Regions from separate parts of the Homo sapiens genome. Here all the other regions are linked to region 3. The links are contacts of gene promoters, found by promoter capture Hi-C in blood cells and fetal thymus (Javierre and others, 2016). All regions are on one chromosome and are shown on one strand. The core of a region is centred on a gene start or on the middle of the fragment in contact, and the rest is flanking DNA. Distances in the headings are between cores, read along the strand shown. Region 1 holds the start of ERGIC1 (endoplasmic reticulum-golgi intermediate compartment 1). Region 2 holds the start of DUSP1 (dual specificity phosphatase 1). Region 3 holds the start of CPEB4 (cytoplasmic polyadenylation element binding protein 4).

Region 1 (2,703 bases), core at 161-2,660, 1.1 Mb before region 3:
AGGTCTGGCCTGGGGACAAGAGTCTGTCCTGTGATGGCCATGTGGCTGGTCTGTGGACCACAGTTTGAGGAGGGAGGATTCGAGGTCAAAGATCCATCATTGCATGTTTCCTCCCACACAGGGCCAACGAATGGCTGTTTGGAAGCAGTGGCTGCTCAAGATCCCTTAACTCTCCCTGCTGTCCCTAGGTTTCCAGTTCAGGCTGAGATTTCCTTTTCTCCCCCAACAGTGTCAGACCACTGACACTGAATGAATGAATGAATGAATGAGTGAATGAATGAAAAGGGAACGCAGAGGTCAGGTCCCGGCATATGCTCTAGGGGAAGGCTTTGGTTCACCACGTCACCCTACCCCAGACCCCGTGCTAGTGTTGTCCCTTCTGAATCCTCCCGGAGGAACCAGCACTGCTGTTCCCCTCTATTTACACAGGGGGAAACTGTCCATTGACTCTGCTTTTGGAACCCGAGCCCTCACCATTCTCCCCTGGGTTTTTTGAAGCCCTGTCCCACCACAACCTTGGAGAAAGGGCCAGTGACAGAACCTCGGGGAAGTTCAGAGTGAGTTTCCCCTACTCAGGTCTTGTGTGACCTCAACTACCATCTCCTCTAATCCAGCAGTCACGGAGGCAGCTGCTCTGTATTCCTGAGGAGGAAACTGAGGCTCTAAGAAGGAGACAATCGGCACAGTCCACGTTGGCCAAGTCACAGTGCAGGTCCCATCTGCCTCTGCCACAACCCTGCATGTTCTCGATGGACCTGGTTCAGAGCAGATGCTCTGTGAATGCCCACTGGAGTGAACGACAGGGGCAGATGGAAGCAGGGACAGCCACTGCCAGCCTCAATAGTTTCAGGTGCCTGGCACTGTGCTAAGCCAGTCTCCTGTTTCTCAGCTGATCCCCAGGAAAACCCCCTCAAGTAGGTGTCATCGTCCTCTTTGTGCAGATATGCAAAAGGGGCGGGGCGGGGGGGGGGCGCTCTGAGAAGCCCAGTGGCTTTCCCAGAGAGACACGGCAGGGGCAGAGGTGAGTCCACCTTAACAGCCTAGGATGGCCGACCTCTTCCCTTCCCCCACAGTATTAGGCCCTCACTCAGAGCTAGACGCTGTGCACGGCCAAAGTCTGTATCACCCCGCCCCCCGCCCCCAACTCAATCACAGTTCAGTGAAACTGTTTACAAATGCAAAAAACTGGGCTCGGAGAAGCAGAGAATTTGTCCGAGGGCATCCAAAGAGATGGAGAAGGAAATCTAAGTGGGAGGCTTGAAGGAATGAGTACTGGAGTCTTTGGGGGACTCCCTTCCCTTCCGACAGCCTCGACTCTCCGCCCCTTCCCTGCCTGCCCGCGGGCCCCTTTAACCGGGTGGCGGAAGGGGCGGCCGGGCGGGCGGCGCCCAATGGGCTGCGCGGAGCGTCACTTCCCGGCAGCGGGAGGCGAGTGGCGAGTGGCGAGTGGCGAGTGTCAGGGGGGCGGCCGGCGGGGGCGGGGCGGCCGGAGGAGGCGTTGGCAGCGGGCTCGGACCCACGCGGCGCCGCGGCCCGCCTGGCCTGCAGCGCTCCCACCCCCGGCGGCGGCACGATGCCCTTTGACTTCAGGAGGTGAGTGTGGCGACCCCGGCCAGTCGGGAGTTCCCTCAGCGGGCAGAGGGAGCGCCCCGGCACGCCGCGGACCCCTCCCGCCCTGCATGCAAAAGCGGCTCCCCGCCCTGTGCATGCCTCCGCAGGCCCCTAGGGACCCCAGGCGAGCCCCCCCCCTGCCGCACACGAAGCCAGCCAGAGCCGCGGAGGCCCCCTCGTGCAGCGGGAGACAAATCCACCCACCTTCCCTCCGCCGAGCCCCCTCCCCAGCCTGCCCGGATACCTTGCATTCCCCTCCCCCACACTAGGAAACATTTCCTCCCTCCTCCCAGATGGGAACAGCCCATAACACCCCAGCATCCCTCTCCTCCCTCTACTGAGCCTCCTTGGTGGACCCCACCTCAGCTGACAGGTGGGGCAGGGCACCTGGAATGAGTCCGGAGGGGCCTGGGGCCCCATGCAGCCTGCCGGCAGCTGGAGGGTTTTAAGTTTCTATAGCCTGAGGCTCCCCCAGGCCGGGCAGATCGGGAGGCCTGCCCCCGCCCCTCCCTCCCTCAGCCCCAGCCCTGTCCGCTGGGTATGGGGGCACCATGGGAAGGGGAGGAGGCGCCTTGGGCAGGACTCTGCAGAAGGGCCACCGGGGTCTGGCCTTGGCTTTCTGCAGTCACCACAATGGGTCCTTTGTGGGGTCCAGCTGCCTCATGGTCTAGGTTGCATGGGGCATTCTGGAAGCCTGCGGGGGAAGAGATCTCCACCAGAGGTTCCCTTGAGGTGTGGAGCCCCAGGGGATGTCCTGGCCTGAGGCAGCCACACTTGGTGTCTGGCTGGGAAAAGAGCAGGGCTTTAATGCAGGGAGGAGCTGGATTAGAATCCTGGCTCTGCCCTTTCTACTGAACAGCTCGGTATATTCTAGAAGTTAGGGGCAAAGGCTCTGGGTTCAGAACTCCCTGTCGCCGCTCGGCTGGCTGACCTCAGCAAGTCTCCGAGCGCCCTCAGTTTCACCACCTGCAAATTGGGGCTAAAAATAAGGTCTCCGCTTGTGACGACTGAGTGCGTGAAACACCCTTAGCAGAGTCTGGCATGATTTAGAGCTCAGAAATAGGGCATTAGTGGATGGGGGGTGTTCTCCAG
Region 2 (2,700 bases), core at 201-2,700, 1.1 Mb before region 3:
TGATACGCACTGCCCAGGTACAGAAAGGGCAGGATTTCCACCGGGCCACCCTGAAATCCAGAAATATCCAACATTCATCAAGCTTGCTCAAAGCCAAGGCCAGTGCCCATACCCACAAAAACTTTCTGCTGGAAAAGTCAATTTCAGATACCGAGTGAACTCAGTTCTGTTGCTGGAGGATAAATAAATAGGGAACTAAGCCCATTTGCCTGGGCAGGACCAGCAAGTTCATTTCCGTAGAGCCTACAATTGGAGACTCGGCTCCGTCAGACCACTTAACTGTGGAATAAATCATATCCCTGTGTCCCCTCCGTTATAAATAATGCTGCAGGTCACTTTCTATATTCTCCCTGGCACTACTCTTCCATGCCTTTGCCAGTTCTTACTTCTTCCCTGTGGCAGGGACACCTACTAACCTGATCGTAGAGTGGGGTACTGCAGGAACTGCACCCAGATTCCGCGCTGTCAGGGACGCTAGTACTCAGGGGAAGGCTGAGCCCCATGGGGGTCGACTGTTTGCTGCACAGCTCCGGGCAGGAAGCCGAAAACGCTTCGTATCCTCCTGGGAATACAAAGACATTTTTTTTCCCCATTAGTGACACCGGGACACGGCACCTTCATACAACTCCCCCACCCACCAAGGGCTGGAAGTTTACATCGGAAAGGCCCAGGCAAGTCTTTGTTTCCAGAGCCAAACAAAGCCAATGACAAGTTCCAGAGATAAATGTACTCCAGCGCCCACGCGCTGCAGGTGGGGCGATCCCCCGGGAGCCGAGAGCCAGGGGTACCGGGCAAAACCTCAGGGGTGTGCGGCCCGCCCCGAGCTTCCCCGAGGGCGTACCTTTGAGGAAGAAGACTTGCGCGGCGCGCGCCTCGCGGCAGAGCGCGCCGGCCGCCAGGGCCAGGGTGCCGTCGCGCTTGGCGCCGTCCAGGGCGGCGCTGCGCTCGTCCAGCAACACCACGGCGTGGTAGGCGCCGGCCAGCAGGCGGCCGCGGAGCTCGGCGTTGGGCACGATGTGCTCCAGGCCCATGGCGCCCTTGGCCCGGCGCCGCACGATGGTGCTGAAGCGCACGTTGACAGAGCCGGCGATGTGGCCGGCGTTGAAAGCGAAGAAGGAGCGGCAGTCCAGCAGCAGGCATTGCGCCGCTCGCTCCCCCAGCAGCGCCCGCAGGCCTCCAGCGTCCAGGGTGCCCACTTCCATGACCATGGCCGGCCTCAGCGCCCCCAGCGTGATCGGCCCTGCGGTGCTCTTTGTCTGTTCTCGGGGCCAAGGGCAGGGCGGCGCTTTTCGAGGAAAAGCTAGACCCCCGGGTCTCTCTGCGCCGAACCAAAAGCCGCTTTTGGACTGAGAGAGGAGCGTCACGCGGGGCTCCGGGCTCCTCGGCTTCTTCGCGGTTCCCCCGACTGCCCCTCCGACCCGCGTCGCACACACAGCCCAAATGTCCTTCGCAGCGAGCCTGGCCCGGGGAGCGCGTTTATATGCGGCCTCTGGGGGACGGGGCGGGCCAGACCCGCGCGCAGGGGGAGGGGGGGTGTTTGTTTGAATGGTGATCACGTGACGGGGCGGTGACGTCACCCGCCCTGCCAGGCCAGGCGCCGCCGAGCCAGAGGGGGAGACGTCATCAGCCTCGGAGCTGGGTCCGCTCGCCGCGCGCTGGCTCGCGGCCCGGCCCCCGCCCTGCTGTCCGGCCTGCTCTTGGCGCGTCCCCAGGGACCGGACCCGCGCCGCGCTCCAGGCCCAGCGGGGAGGAGGAGGGCTCGCTGCCAGCTGAGGCTGACCTCCGGGATGCGAGCGGCCGGGAGAACGGGCGACGTGCCACCTGCCTTGGCCTCGCCGCTCCTCCCTCTCTCCCTCCCCGAGTCCCCTTCCCCGTGCCCCTCGGCCGCCGACCTGAACCGAAAGGGGCTTCCTGTGCTTTTGCATACTCTTGTGCCCCTTTTCCTCATTTCCTCATCACTAACAGGCGGGGAAACTGAGGTTCCCCAGGCGAAGCGACTGACTTGCCCAGAACCACACTACTGGGGTGGGGGCAGCAAATAGGCGCCTAAGATGAAGTTTAGAGAAAAATGAACAACTCTGCCGATAGAAAAGTCGTCCCTACCAAGACCGACTCGAGCGAGTTGGGGCGGAGAGGTTCAGGGCAATGCTTTCCTGTTTCCCAGACTTTTCTTTAAGGTGGCTTTAAAATATCTACATTTGCCATGAAAGTGTGAGCAAGCAAACTCCCACCGGGAAATAATGCTATTCCTAGTCTTGTGGCCCCCGGAAGACTTGGAGCCAAGGGAGGCAGGTCAGGGGGCTGAAATCCCGGTGAGGGGTCGCAAGGCCCCGCAGTGGATTCCAGGGTTTGGCGTTTGGAGGGGTGAGGGGCGACCCGCAGCGCGACTCGACGGCGCCCCCCAGGGGCCGCCCGACACGTTTCTGTCACCTTGGCTCCAGACTGAGCTTCTCCATCCCTTTCTTTATTATACAAATAGGCAGTATACACAGTGAGCGCCCACTAAGCGCTGGGCTGGGGGCCTCCAACCCGGAACAGAAGCCGGCCACAACCCTCGCTCCCTGTCGTCGCGGCCGTTATAGGCCGAAAGCAAAATCCAATCCCGGGCCATTGTGGGCGGATTGCCAGGACCTGGATCGCAACACTTGGGAAGACCCCCGCCCCGCCCAGCGATCTCCGTGCCCTGAGTCCCAGTGACGG
Region 3 (2,747 bases), core at 144-2,643:
GGGAATGTACAAAGATAAACAGGACATTAAAGCCCTTGAGTACCAAACATAATGAAAAGTCTGATATGTGAGCTCCAAACCAAATGGCAAAAGGAAGGAAATAATTAATTCAGACTTGGAAACAGGAGTGAGGGGTGGGGGGTGGGTGACGGGTGGAAGGGGTGGCAGTGGGTTGGGGGGCTGTCACTCAGGGAAGACTTCATTGTTGCTGGTTTGTTCATTCACGTTTTCAGGATTCATTCACTGATGTCTCCTATCTACAATGTCTGCTCCTGAAAGAGCCCACGGTCCAGCACAGGTCTGGAAGACATAAACCATCACAATATAGTGTGAGAAACAAGCACGAGAGGTACACAGGGCCGTGGACGCTTATAAGAGAGAATTCAGAAGATGCTGTTGGTGGCTTTTGAACTGATTCCTAGAAATAAATAGGAATTTACCAAAGGAGAAGAGTGGAAAGGACATGTAAAAAGGCATTGAGAGTGTGTTTGGAGGGGGAAGAGGCACTAAGATATACCACCCATTAGGTAGAAAGGCTTGAATACCAGACTAACAAGTTTGGCCTTTATCTTCGAAATAATGGGCAACCATAGAAGAAATCGGAGCATGTGAGGGTCAAGATAAAATTTTAGTTTTGGAATTTTCCCTCTGGTATTGCGTGTAAGGTGTACTAGATCGGGATGATACGGGGGCATAGCCACAGACGCCTCAGCTGCATCTCTGCACCTGGGAGACTGCACCAGATGCGAGCCTAGCAGAATGGGAGAGTGGGAGGTGCGGGTGAGCGAATGGAAGGTTAAGGGAGAGTCCCTCGTGAGGTCTACATTCTGGGCAAGGGCAAACGCAGTTCTAGGCACCGCACAGCTGCTGGCAAGACCCGCCTCCCCTTCCAGATCCCTCTGGGGCGGAGCTCGGGCCAGAGCACGTGATGCTTGGAGCACCACCTTTACTGTGGGCACCCTTCTCATTCATCCGCGGTTTCACGGGCCGCCACTTCGATCTCCAACACCTTGACCGTATGCCTTCGTGAGCGAGGAATCCGTTCTCCTTGACACGTCCCTATTGCTCCTCCTGCAAAGCCCAGTTAGGGAAGAGAAATATCAAAGGAGTCCCTTGCCCACACAAAAGATGGCGACCTGCTGCGCTCACTCTGGGTGGGGGAAGCGGGTTCCAGGCGCCGGGCCTCACTAGGCGAGGCGCAGACGGAAGAGGCGTCTCTGGAGGTAACTTTTCGACCTTCCTGGGAGTAGCTCTGAAGCGAGGGGGCGTGGCCTCGCCTGAGTTCTAACAGATGATTGGTCTTCCGGCAGGTAGGTGGGGAATGAGTGCTACCCCCACCCCTCCCTCTTCGAACCGGAAGTGTCTCTGGGTCTTTCCAGCTGGTTGTCATTTCACTCGGCTCGGTCCTGAGGAGAAGGACTCAGCCGCGGCTGCGGGACCCGGGCACCGGGAGGCGGTGGCGGCGGCGGCGGCGGCAGCAGCGGCGACAGCAGAGGAGGAAGAGGAGGAAGAAGGAAAGAAAAAGAAGAACCAGGAGGAGTCCTCAACAACGACAGCGGGGACTGCGGGACCAGGGTAAAGCGGCGACGGCGGCGACGGCCCAGCAACCGTGAGGAGAAACAAAAGCCTTCTAAATTATAGTTTAAAAAAAAATTCTGGGGGAAAAGAGAGAGAAAGCCGAGGGGGGAGGCCCTTCTCCTTTAAAATAACTACGGTAGTGGGTTTTTCCTTTTTTTCCTCTTTTTTCCCTCTCTGCGGAGAATCGAACTGAGGGAACTGAACAAACCGCCCCTGGGTCCCATGAGGGAAAAAAACCCCGGAGCCGCAGAGAGGGGAAGAGGCAGAAACCGCAGGACCTTCCAGGTCGCCCCCTCGGTCCCCGCACCCCCAGGCCGCCCGCTCACCCTCGTCGAGTCTCGCTAATCCCTCCTGATCGCGACCCCCGCAAGAGGGAGAAACGGGTGTTTCCAACCCCTTTCATGGGGGAGAGGAAGCCGCGGGGAGCCCAGGAACAGCGACCGCAGCAAGATCTGCACCCGGAGCCTCAGGAACAGCCCCAGAGGCCAAAACTGCACCCTGCGAAAGAGCAGAAAACAGGACCAGGAACAGCAGAAACCTCCCTGCAATCATCTTTCCATTAGTCAATGCTGATTTCCTCTCCCGAAACCAGGAATTCACTTCCCACCCCAGATAACCTAATATAATCTATATATATAAATATATAATATATAATGTTCTTAAATTATTCCTGATTTTTTTTTAACCAAGCTGCCAAGAAAAGAACGTATTCCCCTCTTAGTCCTATTCTAATTTTTATGTGAGTGAATCTAAACTGCTGAGGAAAACCATATGTGATTGTTAAATTATATATATCTATATTTTTACTCCGCGCAAGGCTTATTCTTCTACATCCATAGATGCTTGAGAAGCTCTGTTTTTGTCATTCATGTACATTTTCCTTTGGAAAAAGAAAGCGCCTATTTTACTAACCAAAGACTTGATTTTTACCCTCTTCATTTTTATTCCCTCCTAAAAATAAGCCCAATTGGATCCAAGTCAATGTTTTAAGAGATTTTTTTAAGAGTTGTTTTTTCTTTCAGAGACCAGAATTCCAAATCAGAACAATTTAAGGTGATAAGCTGCGATCTTTGAGCTAGCTATAAATAAGACATTTCAAGCAAGCAAGCAAACAACTTAAATTTGGGGTAGAGGAAAAAAAAGGCGTGAGACATCAGGTTGTCATTTTT

The links. The method cuts DNA at HindIII sites, captures the fragments that hold promoters and counts their contacts. A CHiCAGO score of 5 or more calls a contact.
Region 1: a contact is called between the fragment with the promoter of ERGIC1 here and the fragment with the promoter of CPEB4 in region 3, in 1 of 17 cell types (neutrophils). The highest score is 5.8, in neutrophils.
Region 2: a contact is called between the fragment with the promoter of DUSP1 here and the fragment with the promoter of CPEB4 in region 3, in 1 of 17 cell types (activated CD4 T cells). The highest score is 5.6, in activated CD4 T cells.

The regions. Positions count from the first base shown.
Region 1 is chr5:172,832,841-172,835,543 of GRCh38, forward strand. ERGIC1 (endoplasmic reticulum-golgi intermediate compartment 1) reads left to right here and starts at 1,411. Exons shown (of 10, transcript NM_001031711.3): 1 at 1,411-1,593. The coding sequence starts at 1,574. RefSeq lists silencers at 1,264-1,663, 2,034-2,083, 2,094-2,173 and enhancers at 2,157-2,703, 2,644-2,703. The HindIII fragment of the contact is 12,096 bases long and covers 1-2,703 here.
Region 2 is chr5:172,769,745-172,772,444 of GRCh38, forward strand. It overlaps DUSP1 (dual specificity phosphatase 1), which reads right to left and starts at 1,451. Exons shown (of 4, transcript NM_004417.4): 1 at 842-1,451; 2 at 417-562; 3 at 1-50. The coding sequence starts at 1,208. LOC105377730 (a long non-coding RNA gene) reads left to right here and starts at 2,467. Exons shown (of 3, transcript NR_188285.1): 1 at 2,467-2,700. RefSeq lists silencers at 799-908, 1,449-1,898 and enhancers at 938-1,699, 1,009-1,278, 1,700-2,461, 1,926-2,700, 2,462-2,700 and 1 more. The HindIII fragment of the contact is 7,766 bases long and covers 81-2,700 here.
Region 3 is chr5:173,886,956-173,889,702 of GRCh38, forward strand. It overlaps CPEB4 (cytoplasmic polyadenylation element binding protein 4), which reads left to right and starts at 1,394. Exons shown (of 10, transcript NM_030627.4): 1 at 1,394-2,747. RefSeq lists an enhancer at 901-1,140. The HindIII fragment of the contact is 9,803 bases long and covers 1-2,747 here.